Linked DNA regions of Homo sapiens: region 2 is linked to region 1. The links are contacts of gene promoters, found by promoter capture Hi-C in blood cells and fetal thymus (Javierre and others, 2016). All regions are on one chromosome and are shown on one strand. Each heading gives the region's core, a stretch centred on a gene start or on the middle of the fragment in contact. The rest is flanking DNA. Distances are from core to core; before and after follow the strand shown.

Evidence for each region. The method cuts DNA at HindIII sites, captures the fragments that hold promoters and counts their contacts. A CHiCAGO score of 5 or more calls a contact.
Region 2: a fragment that was not itself captured here is called in contact with the fragment with the promoter of ATRX in region 1 in 3 of 17 cell types (total CD4 T cells, non-activated CD4 T cells and activated CD4 T cells); the score reaches 6.0 in total CD4 T cells.

What each region holds. Positions count from the first base shown.
Region 1 is chrX:77,784,888-77,789,729 of GRCh38, reverse strand. It overlaps ATRX (ATRX chromatin remodeler), which reads left to right and starts at 3,514. Exons shown (of 35, transcript NM_000489.6): 1 at 3,514-3,748. The coding sequence starts at 3,729. RefSeq lists enhancers at 3,441-3,630, 3,641-3,750 and a silencer at 3,851-3,900. The HindIII fragment of the contact is 7,766 bases long and covers 2,702-4,842 here.
Region 2 is chrX:77,658,137-77,662,988 of GRCh38, reverse strand. All of the region lies in intron 12 of ATRX (ATRX chromatin remodeler), which reads left to right. Among named protein-coding and RNA genes, the nearest start is that of ATRX, 130 kb to the left of the region's middle. The HindIII fragment of the contact is 1,436 bases long and covers 2,851-4,286 here.

The DNA.
Region 1 (4,842 bases), core at 2,265-4,764:
CCTCCGCCTCCTGGGTTCAACCAATTCTCCTGCCTCAGCCTCCCCAGTAGCTGGGATTACAGGCACCCACCACCACACCCGGCTAATTTTTTATATTTTTAGTAGAGATGGGGTTTCACCATGTTGGCCAGGCTGGTCTTGAACTCCTGACCTCAGGTGATCCACCTGCCTCGGCCACCCAAAGTGCTGGGATTACAGGCATGAGCCACCGCGCCTGGCCTCTTTTTCTTTTTTTTTTAAGTAAAAAAAAAATTTTTTTTAGAGAGGGAGCCTCACTATTTTTCCCAGTTTGGTCTTGAACTACTGAATTTAACCCATCTTCCCTTCTTGGCCTTCCAAAGTTAAGAGATTACAGGCATGAGCCACCATGTTCGGCTCAGGTATTCTCTTATGCTTCACAAATATAGTGAGTTGTTATTCACAATGTATTCACAAGTTGTTATTCACAACAATATTCACAAATGTTGTTCATTTTGAAAATGCTGTGATTATTGCTGGGCATGGTGGCTCACGCCTGTAATTCAAGCACTTTGGGAGGTTATGGTGGGAGGATAGTTTGAGCTCTGGACTTTGAGACATGAGCCTGGGCAACATCGAGACCTACTCTCTAAAAAAATAAAACAAAAAGATAAAATTAGCCGGGCTGTGGTGGCTTAGGCCTGCAGTTGTAGCTACTTGGGAGGCTGAGGTGGGAGGATCACTTGAGCTTGGGAGGTCGAGGCTGCAGTGACCCATGATCACGCCATTATGCTCCAGCCTGGGAGGCCAAGTGAGGCCCTGTCTCAAAACAAAATTAAAATTTAAAAAATCTATGATTGCTTGGCATGGTGGCTCATGGCTGTAATCCCAGCACTTTTGCAGGCCGAGGCGGGTGGATTACCTGAGGTCAGGAGTTCAAGACCAGCTTGGCTAACATGGTGAAACCCCGTCTCTACTAAAAATATGAAAATTAGTTAGTCGTGGTGGTGGGTGCCTGTAATCCCAGCTACTAGGGAGGCTGAGGCAGGAAAATCGCTTGAACCTGGGAGGTAGTGGTTGCAGTGAGCCGAGATCATGCCACTGCGCTCCAGCCTGCAGCCTGGGCTACAAGAGCGAGACTCCATCTCAAAAACAAAACAAAACAAAACAAAACAAAAACAAATTGTGATTATAGTTTTATTATTAAGTTTCTTTTGTGAGACTTGTCATTTAAAGCTGTTTAGTGTTGAGAAGTCTCTCAGCAACAGCTAGTTTCTACCTTAATAATTTCAATTCATTTAAAAATAATGTGAGGCAGGAGAATAGGGTTTGGAGGCAGGGAACCTAAGGCTGAGTAAAGTTGACTTCCTAGAACTGAATCAAAAGGAAAACCCCAACTTTCCACACCTAAGTAACAAAAAGACTACTCCCTTTGCAAATCCTCTTCCTTTTCCGCTTGGCAGATGGAAAACTGAAAGTATCTCTGATTGGTTGCAGAAAGCAGATGTTTGTATAGCAGTGTAACTTTGTAACTTCACTTTAGCCTCTGATTGGTTGCTGTCCACAACCAATTAGATGCTTGCATAGGGTGTGACCCTTGTAACTTCACTTTAGCCTCTGATTGCGGGCCACTACTTTATTTACATAGGGTGTACACCAAGTAACCAATGGAAAACCTCTAGAGAGTATTTAAATCCCAGAAAATTCTGTAATGGGGGTCTTGAGCCCCTGTGCTCTGGCAGCTCCTGCAGTCTTGTGGAGTGTACTTTCATTTTCAACGTGTCTCTGCTTTTGTTGCTTCATTCTTTCCTTGCTTTGTGCATTTTGTCCAATTCCTTGTTCGAAACGCCAATAACCTGGTAACATGTTGACTATTTACTATTTTTCTCATAGTGAAGTCAGTTGAACAGCAAGCACATTTCTGTGCTGCCTTGTGATGGAGTACATCATTCAAATTCACTGCATTTACCAAGGAGAAAAAAATGACTCCTGTAAATTGTATGTTGAAATGATATTTAATGTGTACAAGACAAAATCAGTATAGCAGGTACAGAGGTCTGGTTTCTATAATTGCCAACTGAACTCAAACATTTGAAAGATATAATTGCAATGTGTACAGGCGTCTGTTGATTAAAAAGTTGCCTGAGGCCAGGCGCGGTGGCTCACCCCTGTAACTCCAGCACTTTGGGAGGTCGAGGTTGGAGGATGGCTTGAGCTTAGATGTTTGAGACCAGCCTGGGCAACAGACAGACCTACCTCATCTATACCAATACATAAATACATAATTAGCTGGGCTTGATGGCACGCGCCTGCAGTCCCAGCTGCTTGAGAGGCTGAGGTGGGAGGATTGCTTGAGCCTAGGAGGTCGAGGCTGCAGTGAACTGCGTCACGCCACTGCACTCCAGCCTGGGTGACAGAGCTAGACCCTGTCTCAGAAAAAAAAAAAAAAAAAGTTGCCTGAGCCTATCAGATTTTCAAAGTGTTTCATTCAAAAAAGGCTCCCCTCTTGCTATCCCAGTAGAAAGCAGCAACCCTGTCACCTAACCCCGACAGGAGCTCTTGCATATTTCAAGAAAAATAAATAGAATGAACTAAAGCATGCATGGCAGAATAAATTTGGAAATAAATTTCGAAGCGATTAGATTTTAGAGGACTTGTTTGTGATTAGCAGAGATTACCAATGTAAAATCAAATTATAGATCATAAAAGCGGGAAAGGCATTTACAGATCATCCAGCCAAGCTTCCTCTGTAATGAGAAGGAAGCAGATCTAAATTGATTGGTTTGTGAGCTAAACATCACATCAAATTGGGGAAATGGCCCGTGTGTGTGTGTGTGTGTGTGTGTGTGTGTGTGTGTGTGTGTGTATTCTAAGAGACACTTTATTCAATATGGAAAGAATTTTATGCAGCGTTCAAGTTGGTCTTATGTCGTCTGCACACATATACATATATATAAGTATATTATACACATATACATTTCCAAGCATGTTGGTGTGCCAAATATTATGTATAAAACATCTAGGAAAGCAAATAACTTGATGATAGCCTAGCATATAGGAAAGAAAATACTTACATAGGATGGCCATACAGATTAGTGGTTAAGAGTGTCTGGTGAATCTCGGCTCCACTACTGTGGGACTTTGTGTCTTGGTTTCCTCATCTGGAAAATGTAGGTTTGTCTACCTCAGAGAGTGTAAAGATTAAATGAGATAACCCGGATAAAGGATTAGTGTAGTGCCGAGCATATAGTAAACTCTCAATAAATGTAGGTTGCTGTTATTACTTCGTTAATATGTCAAAGAAAAAAGAGGTTGGACCAAAAGAGCATTTTCAAAATAAAGTCAAACTATGTCACTAGCACTTTCAGGTCAATTGGGACTAAATTGGACCCCCTGCGAAAAGGTGGAGGGGATCAAATGACGTCGACCGCCTTAGCAACAGGCCCCCAAAGAAGGTGAATTTCCGTAGCCAATAAGACTCTGTGCTTTGGAGGAGGTAGCCAATGGCTGACGGAAAGAGAAAGAGGGAGGACGCGCCAATTCTCCTGCCTGAGCCTCGGCCCAACAAAATGGCGGCGGCAGCGGTGTCGCTTTGTTTCCGCGGCTCCTGCGGCGGTGGCAGTGGTAGCGGCCTTTGAGCTGTGGGGAGGTTCCAGCAGCAGCTACAGTGACGACTAAGACTCCAGTGCATTTCTATCGTAACCGGGCGCGGGGGAGCGCAGATCGGCGCCCAGCAATCACAGAAGCCGACAAGGCGTTCAAGCGAAAACATGACCGCTGAGCCCATGAGGTAAAACGCAACCCCGTCTCATGGGCCCCAGCGGTCTGGGCCCAGGCACCGTCTGAGTCGGGTGTTTGGGAAGGCGTTCGCTTGGTGGGTTAGGCCTGTGTGTTGCTTAGCCGAAAGAGGCATCGTTTTCTCTTTAGGTGAGAAGGGTTTCGGGGTATCGGCGCAAGGCTCCGACGGGGGTGGGGGTGGGGATGGGGTGGGGGGAGGTGGGGGGGGCGCGGCCTAGGGTATGGGGCGCTTCTTGCAATCTCCCCTAAACGGTGACGCTTGGTCGGGCTCCTCTGTTTATTCTTTGGTGCCTGTGGGATTGAGACCTCGAAGTCGGAGGCGGTCTTTGGTATCCCGGTCATTTTTGCTAATCTTTGGGCCTAGAAACTGCGTGGGGAAGAAGCGGGGGGAGGGTGAGAAGAGGGGGAGGGGTGGGCGGGCGCGAGGATGTGAGATCCCAGGACGACTTAGAGGCGTTTAGGTTGCTGGAGATGGGAAGCACCCGGGCCCTGCGGGATTTTTTTTCTGCAGCCCCAGGAGACAAGCCTTTTTTTGATTGGGTTGTGGTGCAGTTCCAGGTATTTAGGTATCTTTTCTACTCCATATCCTGAAGGATATCCTTGGGTTTATTTCTAGGCGAGGGGGGACTTAACACAGGGTTTTGCTTCCAGAGGACCCTAGTATACTACTTTTTGTGATGTCCAGCCTTAATGGGACCTCAAGTGTTTCCCCACTTTCTGGGCAAATTTCGAGGAGTAATTAGGCCCTATCTTTATTTACTTATTTATTCCATGAAGGATGAAGGGCAGGTTAACGTGGGCTGATGCGAAGTAAGATTTATTGCAAGGGAAAATGCCTGGCAGGCCTCCTCTTAACCAATCAAGCACGTTTATTAGGTTGAAGCTGTTTTTCTGTGTGCTTCTGATTTGCCTCTTGACGGGTCTGAAAATTTGGGTAGTCAATATGAAATGTATACACTTTTACCCAGGTGGCTGGCTGGCGTTTCAGTTTGACATTTGAATTTTCATCCCACAATGTGAATTAAGTAATTTTTTTACTCGGAGATGCATCCTTGGCGTCCAGTGGCAAAATAAAATTACAAGGAG
Region 2 (4,852 bases), core at 2,319-4,818, 130 kb after region 1:
GCACGGTGGCTCATACCTGTAATCCCAGCACTTTGGGAGGCCAAGTCGGGTGGATCACAAGGTCAGGAGATTGAGACCATCCTGGCTAACACGGTGAAACCCCGTCTCTACTAAAAATATAAGAAATTAGCTGGGTTTGGTGGCACGCACCTGTAGTCCCAGCTACTCTGGAGGCTGAGGCAGGAGAATCGCTTGAACCCAGGAGGCGGAGGTTGCAGCAGTGAGCTGAGATTGCGCCATTGCAGTCCAACTTGAGCGGCAGAGCGAGACTCTTTCTCCAAGAAAAATAAAAAAAAAAAAATTTAAGCATATCTGCTCAAACAGTTGACCACTTATATTAAGCAAATGTCAGTACACTGGCAACAAGTATACTATCACATGAGATTAAAATTAATAATTTAGAGTGGGAAGATAACCCAGAAACTTTAGATGACACAAAGAATATTTTTAACCTTTAGATTATAAAGAGAAATAAATATGATTTAATAAATAAAACATTATGTAGAAAGTATAAGATTGCATACAACTGCAGAATTAGTGCTTTCCTGTAGAAGGGTAGAAAATGAAATTAATTTGGGTAAATTTATGCAAGCTTATATGCAGAACTTGACTGGCATATAGTCAGAGTAGATTTCCATTTCATTAAAAGCCTGAGTCCTTTTGCATTGAGGGCTTACATGTTTCCAGCAGTATGGTGGGCATTGAGGATACAAAAATGAATAAAAATGTATCTCAGTGATTCTGATAGGTAACTAGGTTTGGCAGTCACTGGTTTAGTAAGAATTATTGACCTTTGTATTATAAAAAAATTATAGCACCATGAGGGACATTTTGTGTAACGTAATTATATAATGTGGCACAAAGAAGGGCTTCTTTAGCTTCTTGAGGGGTAGGAGTTACCCCAGAGAAGGCTTCACAAAGAAGGCTTTTACCCAACAGATTAAATTCAAAATGTGGGAGCACGTAGATTGTTGTGAAGATTTACAACACAAGCAGGGAAAAAAATTTTAAAACCTGTGTAAAATGTTGGCACATGATGGATGGGATACAATTAATATAGTATAAGCTGCTCTATAGATAGGAGTAGGGAAAGGAACAACAGGGGATGAAGCTGGGCCTGTAAAACAGAGACCAGATACTGGAGATCTTTGTAAGCCTGTGTTTTTCACACTGGAGTACTGGGTGGTATACCAAGGTGTACATCTCTTTGGTGTCTCTATTTATAATTTGAGGTTTGGGGAAGGTCATTTTATGTTAAATAATATATATTGGGTAATTAAATGTGATATTTGCCTGCGAATTTTGGGTAACAAAAAGTTCAAAGAATTTTTTTGTTGTTGCTGTGGTGGGCTTTTTGATGACTAGGGGTAAATTTTGAAGACTGTTGTTAGTACCCAACCCATGGATGGCAGATGAACTCTTCTTTGCCAACTGGGAATAGGAACGCATTTTTGCAAGTGTTTGGGAAATATAATAGGCTCTAAAGGATGCAGAGCCATTGAAAAGTTTTTTTTTTTTTTTCAATTACTGTATTTATTTTTGAACTCTGGACCTCTGGTTATCCACCTACCTCGGCCTCCCAAAGTGCTGGGATTATAGGCGTGAGCCACCGTACCGGCCTTATTTTTAAATTTTTTGTATAACAGCTATATTGAGATATAACTCACAAACCACACAGTTCACCATTTACAGTATACAATTTAGCAGTTTTTAGTATAATCATAGAGGATTACCACCACTTTAAAAAATGTTTTATTTGAAATGTATGTACAAAGAAGTGCACATTATCAATAAGTAGACATCTTGATGAAAACGTAGGGCACCCAGATCAAGGAACAAGATGTTGATTACTAACACCCAAGAATCACAATCTCAGCATGACCACTTTTTTCCCTATTGAAAGATTTTAATCAAAGATATCATATGATCAGATTAGTTCCTTACTATTCAGTGAGAATGAAGGCACTGAATGTTTGGAAGGTATTGCTGTAGTTGATGACAAATGGGGTTGTTGGAGAAGAGGAAGATTGACTTGAGTCTTATAGGAGGTTGAATTGTTAGGTCTTCTTAATTGGTATGAAAGGGAAAAGTCTACAATGAGTGTCAGGTTTTTAGAGTTGTCATGGTGTATGTACAATATCACAGAAATAGTTGAGGTTATTCAGTGGAGTTGTAATGTTTTACAAATGGAAAGCTAAGGACATAGTCTTGGAATCCTAAACATTTATAGGGCTTTTGGGCAAGAGTTATTCACTAAAGATGAGGGGGAGAAGTTCTTGCCACACACATATACAATTAATATGTCATGGACATTTTAATGTTAATAAATAATAGTACATCATTTTGTGACTACTTGTCTTATAAATTTCTTTTTTATTATTATTATTTTTTTATTTTTATTATTTATTTATTTATTTATTTTGAGTCGGAGTCTTGCTTTGTCGCCCAGGCCGGAGTGCAGTGGCGCGATCTCGGCTCACACTGCAAGCTCTGCCTCCCGGGTTCATGCCATTCTCCTGCCTCAGCTTCCCTAGTAGCTGGGACTACAGGCGCCCACCACCATGCCCGGCTAATTTTTTATATTTTTAGTAGAAACAGGGTTTCACCGTGTTAGCCAGGATGGTCTCGATCTCCTGACCTCGTGATCCACCCGCCTCGGCCTCCCAAAAGTGCTGGGATTACAGGCGTGAGCCACTGCGCCCAGCTTGTCTTATAAATTTCTTTGCAATATGGCTGCAAGCTCTTACAGATTCTATAAAGGAACTGTGTGATTTAGCATGTTATATATCACAACATGGATTCCTGTGCCTCTTCAACAAAAGGGGCAATATTGATTTTGCTTCTGAAGCTTAGTTCAATATATAGACCCTTTTAATATATATGATTACATTTGAGATTTGCTTTATTAAAACCTGAGTTTTCTGTGATCTGTGTTTCTACAGCCTGATTCTGTGGGTAATTTATTACCCAAGTGGTTTTGTTGTTGTTGTTTTTTGTTTGTGTAGGAGAGAGTAAACTTCTAAAATCTCATCATATTTGTGTTTCTAATATGGATTGTGATCATAGTGGTTGATATATAGTTGAAGTTGCATGATTTTCTGAGTTTTGTAAATTCTAATGTTCCTATATTATTTGGAAATTTGAATTGAGAGATGGGAAAAAATCAGTAGTGAATAGTCTGCTTATTAAATCTAGTTGAATTAAATTGAAATGCATTGAAGAGGTATAAGAACAAAGTGCAACATGTGAACTCTAATTTTCTCCTAAATTAGAAAAATGTTACAAAATTATTTTAGTGACAATTTGAAATTGTAAATATTGCCTTCATATTAGATGATAGTAATTTTTTTTTCAGATGTGATAATGGTATTTAGTTATGTAGGGCAGTATCCTTATGCTTAGGGGTAAAGTGTCATCCGCGCTTAATATCACATGGTTCAGTGTAAGAAAAGTTGTGTCTGCCTGTGTGTGTGTGTGTGTGTGTGTGTGTGTGTGTGTGTGTGTGTAGAGAGAGAAAGAAAAAAAGCAAATGTGGTAAACTGCTAACAATAAGTGAATTTAGGAGAAGGGATACAAGTGTTCATTCAATAATTCTTTCAAATTTTTGGTAGATTTCAAAAATTTTAAAATGCTGGGTGAACAATTAATACTAGGCTTAAAATTATACTTAATTACAGGATTTTTTTGTGTCAGTGTGTGTGTTTTTGGTATTCTCCCAGCTTTCCAGTTGCTTAGCTATTCTTTTTTTTTATTATTGTGGTAAAATATATGTAACATAAAATTTACCATTTTACCCATTTTTAAGTGTATGATTCAGTGACATTAAGTACATTCACATTTTTATACAACCATAACTTCTGTCTGTCCCTAAAACGTGTCGTCATTCCAAATGGAATCTCTTTAACCATTAAACAATAACTCTTTGTTCCCCTCTCCCCCGACATTTCTTTATAGCATTTATGTTCTCCCATTTATAGCATTTCTGTTAGCATTTATGTTCTCTCATTTTTTAAAAAGCTGGAATAGATCTTTGATTCTGATCTCAGGTTATGATAGATTTTTTTAAAAAATTATTTTGAAACAATTCTTGATTTACAGAAATGTTACACAAATAGTGCAGAGTTCTGTGTATCTTTCACCTAGCTTCCCTGATTTAATACCCTATCATAGTACCATGATCAAAACCAGGAAATTAATATTGGTACAATACTATCAACTAAGCCGGGGGTTTACAAACTGCACCTGTGGGCCAAATCTGATCCTCTGCCTGTTTTTATAAATAAGCTTTTATTGAAACACAGCCATATTCATTAATTTACTGTTTTCACATATGTACAATGGCAAAGTTGAGTAGAGATGAGTAGTTGCAACAGAGACCATACGGTCCACAAGTCAAAAATATTTACTATCAAACTTTTTACATAAAATGTTTTATGACCTCTGAAGTAAACTATAGATCTTATTCAGAGATTAGTTTTCCCACTAATGTTTTCTTTCTGCTCTATGATTCAATCCAGGATCTCACATTGCATCGAGTTATAATGTCTCCTTAATCTACTTCAGCCTGTGACAATTCCTCAGTCTTTACTTTGATGACCTTGACACTTGTGGAGTGTTGATTCCTTATTTTCTCAACTGTTCCTTGATATATATTTGTCTAATGTTTTCTCATGATCGAATTGAGATTATTATGCATTTTGACAGAATACCACAGAAGTGATGTTGTGTCTTCAGTGCATGATATCAAGAATAGATGATGTCAGTATGTCTTTTTTTTTGAGAGAAGACCTCGCTCTGTTGCCCAGGCTGGAGTACAGTGGTGCGATCATGGCTCACTGCAGACTCAACCTCC